2 separate regions of the Homo sapiens genome follow, and region 2 is linked to region 1. Evidence: promoter capture Hi-C in human tissues and cell types (Jung and others, 2019). All regions are on one chromosome and are shown on one strand. The core of a region is centred on a gene start or on the middle of the fragment in contact, and the rest is flanking DNA. Distances in the headings are between cores, read along the strand shown.

Region 1 (4,529 bases), core at 1,215-3,714:
ACCAGAATGGCTAAGATTAAAAAGACAATACTAAACGTTAGCAAGGAGTTTAAGTTGGCAACCACTTTGGAAAACTATGTCCTACTTAAGCTGAACATAAGTAAGCCCTATGACCCAGTAATTCCATCCCTGGGAGTATATCAGTATATGTGTTCACATAAAGATATATATTATTGAGTTTGTAGGTACACTATTTATAATATAAAAGAGTGAAAATTACCCAAATGTTCATCAACAGCAGAATGGATAAGTAAATTGTAAAACATCCACAATGAAATACCATATTACAGTGAGAATAGATTAACTACATCTACACACAAACATAATGTTTAGCAAAAAATATGCAAGGTACTTCATTTGCATAAATACAAAACTAGATAAAGCAAATCTATACAAGATGGCAGGATAATGGTTACCCTTGGGGCAAGGGTGGTGACTAGATGAAGACAGGAGGAGGGCTTCTGGAATGTGGCAATGTCCTGTTCTTACGAGGATGCTAGTTGGTTGGGTGTGTTCAGTTTGCATTCTTCTATATGTATATCATACTTCAATAAAAGTTCAAGGAGAATCATCTCCGGGTGGATTGCAGAACTAAATGTGAAAAGCAAAACAATCGTCTAGTAGACCACATAGGAAAATATGATGGGGGTAAGGGAAGATTTCCTAAGGCACATGCACATGCACACACACCCAATCCACTAACCTAAAGAAAATAATTGAACTACATAAAACTTGGAAACTTCTCAGCCAGGCGAGGCGGCTCACGCCTGTAATCCCAGCACTGTGGGAGTCTGAGGCAGGTGGATCACTTGAGCTCAGGAGTTGGAGACCAGCCTGGGCCACATATCAAAACCTTGTCTCTACAAAAAATACAAAAGTTAGCCAGGCCTGTTGACCTGTGCCTATAGTCCCGGCTATTTGGGAGGCTGAGGTGGGAGGATCTCTTGAGCCTGAGAGGTCAAGGCTGCAGTGAGTCCTGATGGCACCACTGCACTCCGGCCTAGGTGACAGAGTGAGACCCTGTCTAAAAAAAAAAAAAAAAAAAAAAAAAAAAAATCTAATCATCAACACCATTAAGAGTGAAAAGGCAAGCCACAGAGTGTGTTCATATCCCTAATATATAAAGAAATTCCACAAATCAATAAGAAAAAAGGCAGACAACTCCATAAGGAAAAAAAAAAAATGAGCCAGGGACTCGAAAGAACACTTAACCAAGGAAGCTATCAGAATGGGCACCATACACATGAGAAGGTTCTCAGCTTCATTAGTTATTAGAGAAAAGCAAAGCAAAGCAGTAGTGCAATACCACCACACACCCATCAGAATAGCTGAAGTTATAGAGTTAAAATGCCAAGAAGGCTGAAGCTGGAAGCCATGAAAACCCTTACACACCGCTGGAGTGTGTATATTATTTCAGCCTCTTAGCATAACTGTTGGGCATTACTTATTGATGATAGATATACCCTATGTCCCAGCAGTCCCACTCCAGGACAAACTCATGCAAACGTGCATCAGAACCACGTACCAGAAAATTCATAGTAGCATTACTCAGAATAGCCCTAACTGAAAACAACTTTGATGTCTATCAACAGCAGAATAAGTAATTTATGGTATAATATATACAATGGAATTCTCTTCAGCAGCAAAAGCAAACAAACCATCTCTGTATGCAACCTGGATGGACTCCAGACATAATATAGACTCCATGAAACTAGGCCAAAAAAAAAAGCATACTGCATGATTCTATTTATAGCAAAAGCAAGCAAACCGAATTTGTAGTGTTGAGTTCGCGGTTGCCTTTTGGGAAAGAGGGAGGCTTTCAGAATAGCGGTGTTTTGGATCCCGGTGTCGGCTACGCAGCTGTGTTCACTCTGGTCATTAATCACTGTAAATTCCTGATATGCACACTTTTATGTATATCACATTTCATACATATGAATATTCAGAAGTCTAAAGGTCACAAGCTTAACCGCAAACCCTACCGTGCCCGAGGCCGGGCTGGACTTGCGGGGCGGTGGGGTTGTCCCGGCGACCTGCCCCAGGCGGGCCACCTAGCCCGGGATCTCACACTGTAGCCCGGAGCCAAGGCCCAGGCCCGGGGCGGGCACCTGAACTGCTGGACCCTTCACTGAACCCCACGGGTTCCCGCGACGGCTGGTGGAGGGAGGACAGTCACCGCTTCCCCTCCCACCTCGAGGTGCGCTAATGCATGAGAAAGTTCCCCTCGGGTGTTTCCACATTCGCCTTAACTTTTAAACACCAACGTCTGGAATCAGGGGTCCTCCAGACTCCGAAACACACCCTAGGAAACAACCCAGAACGAGACACATCCCCTGTGCGCGCGCCACGACTTCCGGCAAGAACGCCCCCGGAGGCGTGGCTCTTCGATTGCTTCGGCCTGGCGGTCGAGCTGCGCGCGCACTCGGCGGCTGCGATTGGTGCTGCCTGGCGGCGGGGCGCGGGGCACGCTGGGACGTCTCGCTGGCGGGAGGCCACGGGCTTTCCACAGCGCGGGGGAACGGGAGGCTGCAGGATGGTCAAGCTGACGGCGGAGCTGATCGAGCAGGCGGCGCAGTACACCAACGCGGTGCGCGACCGGGAGCTGGACCTCCGGGGTGAGTCCGGGGGCGTGGGCGGCCAGTCCCCAGGCGGCACCGAGCCGCCTTATTTTCCGCGCTTTGCCGCGTGCACCGAAGGCCGGAGCTTGGCCCGCGGGCCGGTTGTCTGGGCTCCGACCGGGCTGCGCAGGGAACGCCGGGCCTGATTCTTGCCGTTGTTGCCAGATGAGCATCCGGTTAAGCTCCTGGGAGCCTTCTGTTAGCGCCGTGCCTCTTGACAGGCACGGGTGACTTCATTACTTCCTGGTGCGTCCTCGTGGGGCCCTGTTAGGCCTTGCTTGGCTGTTTCGCCGCTGGCTGTTTGAGGGCCCGGAAGAGCGGCTCATTAATGGTTGTAACGCAAGTGCAGGGCGCGGGATTGGTTCTTAATACTTGCCGCCAGATGATATTTTGAGCGTAGATAGGATATGTGTTCATTATTCCTAATGTGAGGGAGGAAACTAAGTCCCCGAACAACCGCGATTGTTTCCTCCAGTATTTTCTACTTAGTAGCTTTAATTGTCTGGCGTTTCCCCTATATGAAGACGTTTTAAAAATTGAACTGTGTCACCCAGGCTTGCACCGCCGGGTGCTGTGTGTAAGTTGTGGAAGCGCTCGCAATTATTCAGATTCCTGTACTATTTCAACCTTAGCAAGACTTGGTAAGATACTGGGAGGGCAGCTAGCTAGTTGGCATTTCAGGAGACGGCTTTAAAAGGGACGTGATAGAGCAACTTCTCTGAGGATAAGACCATGCTGTCGTAGCCTGAGATTTGTTCCCATGGGGACCTATGGCCTCGGAGCAGCATCGCTGCGGGATCTGCTTAGATTTCTTGCCGACCTTTGGGAAATCCCACTGTTTTGTGTTGTGTTGTGTTGAGATGGAGTCTCGCTCTTTCCGCCCCAGCTGGAGCGCAGTGGCGTGATCTCGGCTCACTGCAACCGCCGCCTCCCCGGTTCAGGTGATTCCTGTGTCTCAAGCCTCCCGAGTAGCTGGGAATACAGGCATGCGCCACCACGCCCGGCTAATTTTTTGTATTTTTAGTAAAGACATGGTTTCTCCATGTTGGTCAGGCTGGTCTCGAACTCCCGACCTCAGGTGATCCGCCCGCCTTGGTCTCCCGAAGTGCTGGGATTACAGGCTTGAGCCACTGCGCCCGGCCCAACTCACCACTTTTGATGATCTCTGCCATTTCTCTTTATGGAGCATGTGCAGTGTTGAGAATACGTATTTTGATGCAGTACGTGTAGTACAGCTCTGAATTGTGTCCTTTAACTTTGGGTAAGTTCTTTTTTTAGTAGACCTTGCTTCTTCGGAATATTTCTTTTCTTATAGTGCCTAACACAATAATTATGCCCAAATTAGACAAATTAACATTTGAGTGTTCACAGATTTATTACTGTATTTAAACCATTGATCTTCAATTCTGAATTGGAGCTGGGGGAGGGGAGGGAGAACTGTCGTGATATGTTGAGGCTGTTCTGATGGGTTCTAAGAATCTGGCCTGTGGAGATGCAAGAGTGGAGAACTGTCGTCCACAATGTTTGAACGCCGTTTGGGCACTGAGACTAAGCAGCTCCAAGTGTAAACTCCTGTTGTGCCGATTCCGCTTAACTAGCCCAAACGACTTAGGACAGTGTGAGGCACCTTGTAAATGTTCTTATAAATGTTAGCTGCCTATATCAGCCATTGTTATTGTCCTTGTCCTTGTTGTCATCAGATTCTAAGCTTCATGGCACTGGGGACTTGAGACTCGTTCAGCGTTTTCTCTCTAGTATCTTAAACAGCGGCAAGTCATGCGTGACCCGACATAGGTGCTAGGTAATACTTCCTGAATAAATCAAAGCCTGGAGTCAGATACTATGAAATACAGCTAATGCTTTAAGGGGCAACTGTTTAGTTATATTAATACCTCTTGTGTTTTTTTCCTC
Region 2 (4,529 bases), core at 1,385-3,884, 500 kb before region 1:
GCAGTGGCATGCAGGCTATGCAGAGATAAGCAATTCAGGAGAGATGAACAGTGGCTCAAGCAGATAGCTGTGTGCCACAGAGTGGCTCCCATCCTAATACTCTAGAGAGAACAGTTGGGAAGAAGAATCCCAGAAAAGATTAAAATTCTGCTTATCAAGCAGGGCAGAGAAATGAGACTGGGAAGAATATTGTGTAAGTGTGACACATTTGTATTCAGCAGGTCTTGCAGCCTGGTGTTTTGATTGTCTTAATTTTATTATTTTAACTTGATTCCAGTGTGCGTCTGTTGATTGGCGTGTGATGTTATTATTCCAGTGTGCATCTGTTGATTAGCATGTGATGTCATTTATTAAAATATTGAATGCCAAGATAAATATTTTACTTACTCCAAATACTATTATCTTTACTAGCCAAGGGTTACATCTACAAAATGAATTTGCCAATATGAGGAAGGTTTTACTTACAAATCTCTTAATTTGAATGCCCATGAAGAAAGCATACCAATATCTGCTGATTTTAGATCTTGCGTATTCCACCTACTGGTGCCTTATACAGCACAGATGCATGGTTAGTGTCTGCTATTACATATGGCATCTATGTTTATTAATTGCGGCCATAAGAAGTCATTAGGGTTTCAGAAAAAGCTTATTTCCCAATTAGTTCACTTGCCAATTGGCTCACTTAATAAGAGAGGATTCTATTGTAACCAAAGCAAATTCACAGAAAGCTTGTCTATTCTTCCAAAATGTATGCTGAATTCATCAACTTTTGTTTTCTTTTTTATGGTTTGCTGATATCCTTTTTTTGTTGCTGTTTACAAATAGTAACTAAAATTTCATATACATTTTTCCATATGTTGCCTGACTATATTATCTTCTGTGCTGCTTTTTTCAACTTTTACTTTAAAATAAGGGGGTACATGTGCAGTTTGTTACACAGGTATATTGCATGGTGCTGAGGTTTGGAGTATAAAGGAATCCATCACCCAGGAGGTAAGCATCTACCCAATAGTTTTTTTCAGCCCTCACCCTGTTCTCTCCATCCCCACTCTTGCATTCTTCAGTGGCTATTGTGTGTGTGTGTGTGTGTGTGTGTGTGTGTGTGTGACAGAGACTCACTCTGTCACCCAGGCTGTAGTGCAATGGTGCAATCTCGGGTTACTGAACCTCTGCCTCCCGGGTTCAAGCAATTTTCCTGCCTCTGCCTCCTGAGTAGCTGGGGTTACAGGTGTGTACCACTAGGCCTGGCTAATTTTTGTATTTTTAGTAAAGAAGGGTTTCACCATGTTGGCCAGGCTGGTCTCGAATTCTTGACCTCCCCCTGCCTTGGCCTCTGAAAGTGCCAGGATTACAGTCATGAGCTACCTCACCCAACTTTATTGTTCCCATTTTTATAACCATGTGTACACAATGTTTAGCTCCCACTCACAAGTGAGAACATGTGGTATTTGGTTTTCTGTTTCTGCAGTCATTCACTTAGGATAATGGCTTCCAGCTGCATCCATGTTGCTGCAAAGAACATGATTTTGTCCTTCATGGCTTCATAGTATCCCACAGTGTACATGTACCACATTTTCTTTAGCCAATCCACTGCTGATGGCACTGGGCATCGACATATTTTTAAGTCATCACATTCGTACTAATTTGATATGACAGCCTTTGGAAACTAATACAGAGATTAATCTGTCGTTAGAAGTAAAGTGGATTCAAGAAAGAGATTATATTTATTTGTTTTATGTTTTCAAGCTTAGAAGAGATGTGGCCATGTTTGAATACTGATATAAACAAACCAAAAGAAAGGATGGTTTAAAAATATAGCAGGGGGAGGGAGTAACTGAAAGAGCAAAAGTCCTGAAGAGGTGGCAGAGGATGAGATCTATAACTCAACCACAGAAAGGGCCCTGCATCCTGGGGATCCTGCCTTCACCTAACCAATCATATTCTCCCTCCTGGAAATTTGAAATTTGGGGTTCATAAATGCTGGTCAGATTCTGCTGGTCCCTTAAACTAAAGTGATGTAGCTACAGGGATGGGACACAGAAAGAAATACAAATGAGAGGCCCGCGACCTCGAGCATTGGAAGAAATAGTGGGTTTAGTTCCTTCTCCTTCTCCCATTCATGGTGCAGTTCCTGGTGGTTCTGCTCTAGAATTCCACCAAATACTTCTGTGTGAAGATGTCTCCTCTTCTCATATCTGTTACTTGCAACAAGAAGCTGTGACTAAGAAACTGACAGAATTTGGTTTGAACCCCAAATCAATCACTTTCTAGGTGTGTGACTTCTAGGCTGAGGCTTTCTCATTTATGAAGCAGGGATAGCAAAACCTACCTCATAGGTTTTATGTGTTTTTAATGAGAATACATATGAAGGCCCTGAAGTATAGTAGATATTTGGTTACTGTTAGTTCCCCTGGCCATTCCCTAGGGGTAACTTGAGGAAAGCAGAAAGCTCTGCCCAAATAGTTTATTTGATAGTTAATTGTGATAAGCACTTCACTTGGAAATGGATACTAAAGAAAATCTCACCATCAAAAATGGTTGTAGAGGAGTATAGAGAAGTTTTAAGCTCCTTTGGAAATCTGGGAATACATAAGGCATAACAAAAACTGAGGCATAATACAAGAGGACGTTTCCATACAAGGCTGCCAAATCACTGTCTCTTCCCCAAGGTCCCTGCCAATCATCCCTATCTCTGTTTCTGTTCCCTACCCCATCTCCAGACAGTTAAAAAATAAAAGCTCACCCAGTAACCTATCATAGATAGTCTATAAAGGTATCCTAGATTCTGTTTATTTAACCTAAGACACAGTTCTTAAATTGTACTTTCCATAAGAAGCAACATTATGATTCTAGCACTGGAGTTGGAACAGAATAACTTCATCCTCACATTAGGAGTAGTACGCAAGGTCTTCGAAGTTACACAAGGTCTTTAAAATTACCCAATGGCAGGATTCATGCAGTTGACATCACCACAGATCTGGGTTTTGCTGCTGCAAACAGGCTGACCTTAGCACAAGGATGACTGTGTCTCGGATCATACTCTACACAGCACCTAAAAGATGCAACAGGGAAACTTTAGGCAAAATGATAGGAAATCGTTTTACCTCTCCAGATTTTCTTTTCTAAATGAGGGCATAACAATGCCTGCTCCATATAATTTTTATGTATACATTAGATAGTGCCTGGCACACAGCACTTAATAAATGGTAGCCGAAAGGAGGAGAGAAGCCCTACTGGTTAAATATACTAGCTAAGGAGGAAGCGTTTTATATACACCAGAAAGAGCTGTGCTTGAAGCTTAGTGTTTTTTTCTTTAAGCTTTTGTTGGAGTACTTCGGACATGTCTAATGGTATAGAATCAAGAAGCAGTGTATCAAGTTTTGTATGAACTGGTTTAGGCAAGTTTGTCAGGCTGCCACAAGTTCAGCTTATGATTTCTTTTTTTTTTTTCCAGATGTTATTGGGGTACAGGTGGTATCTGGTTACATGAGTAAGTTCTTTAGTGGTGATTTGTGAGATTTTGGTGCACCCATCACCCGGGCAGTATACACTGCACCCTATTTGTAGATTTTTATCCCTCGCCCCTCTCCCATCCTTTCCCCCAAGTTCCCGAGTTCACTGTATTATTCTTACGCCTTTGCATCCTCATAGCGTAGCTCCCACATATCAGTGAGAACATATGATGTTTGGTTTTCCATTCCCGAGTTTACTTCACTTAAAATAATAGTTCCCAGTCTCATCCAGGTCACTGCAAATGCCATTAATTCAATACTTTTTATAGCTGAGTAGTATTCCATCACATATATATACCACAGTTTCTTTATCCACTTGTTGTTGATGGGCATTTGGGTTGATTCCATGATTTTGCCATTACGAATTATGCTGCTATAAACATGCATGTACAAGTATCTTTCTCATATAATGACACCTTTATCTCTATGTGCCCAGTAGTGGAATTGCTGGATCAAATGGTAGTTCTACATTTAGCTCTTTAAGGAATCTCCACACTGATTTTCATAGTGGCTGTACTAGTTTACATGCCCACCAGCAGTGTATAAGTGCTCCCTGATCAACACATCCACACCAACATCTGGTTTTTTTAATGTTTTGATTATGGCCATTCTTGCAGGAATAAGGAGGTATCACATTTATTTGCTTGGTCCACATGGTTTTGATTTGCATTTCTAGGTTTGGGGTATATTTTCTGTTTCAGTTATGCCCTTTGCAGTGTCTAATTAATTCTCTTGACAAAATTTTTTAATGTTATACGTTATTGAGTAAGATGGTAGGGAAAAGGAGGAGATGACCAGGGTTCAAATCACTTCTACAAACACTAATTGGAATTGTAATATACCAAGTTCTATTATATAGAAGATGATCATAAAAAAGAAGAAGGAAGACGAGGAAGAAGAGTCATGGACTATCCCTCAAAGAATTCACAGTGCAGATGAGAGAAAGGTAAAGAAATATTTTTAAATAGAGTGATAAGTATAGTATTGAAAGGTCCACATAAAAGACAAAGTAATAAA

What was found. Contacts are between HindIII fragments. The study calls those that stand out against the background at their distance.
Region 2: a contact is called between a fragment that was not itself captured here and the fragment with the promoter of SNRPA1 in region 1, in 3 of the 25 tissues and cell types used here (IMR-90 fibroblasts, aorta and lymphoblastoid cells).

What each region holds. Positions count from the first base shown.
Region 1 is chr15:101,293,183-101,297,711 of GRCh38, reverse strand. SNRPA1 (small nuclear ribonucleoprotein polypeptide A') reads left to right here and starts at 2,464. Exons shown (of 9, transcript NM_003090.4): 1 at 2,464-2,615. The coding sequence starts at 2,534. SNRPA1-DT (SNRPA1 divergent transcript) reads right to left here and starts at 2,364. Exons shown (of 2, transcript NR_186319.1): 1 at 1,983-2,364. RefSeq lists enhancers at 2,116-2,205, 2,266-2,315, 2,879-3,510, 4,428-4,507 and a silencer at 2,546-2,735. The HindIII fragment of the contact is 7,299 bases long and covers 785-4,529 here.
Region 2 is chr15:101,796,732-101,801,260 of GRCh38, reverse strand. No RefSeq gene overlaps it. Among named protein-coding and RNA genes, the nearest start is that of OR4F6, 4.5 kb to the left of the region's middle. The HindIII fragment of the contact is 5,482 bases long and covers 1-4,529 here.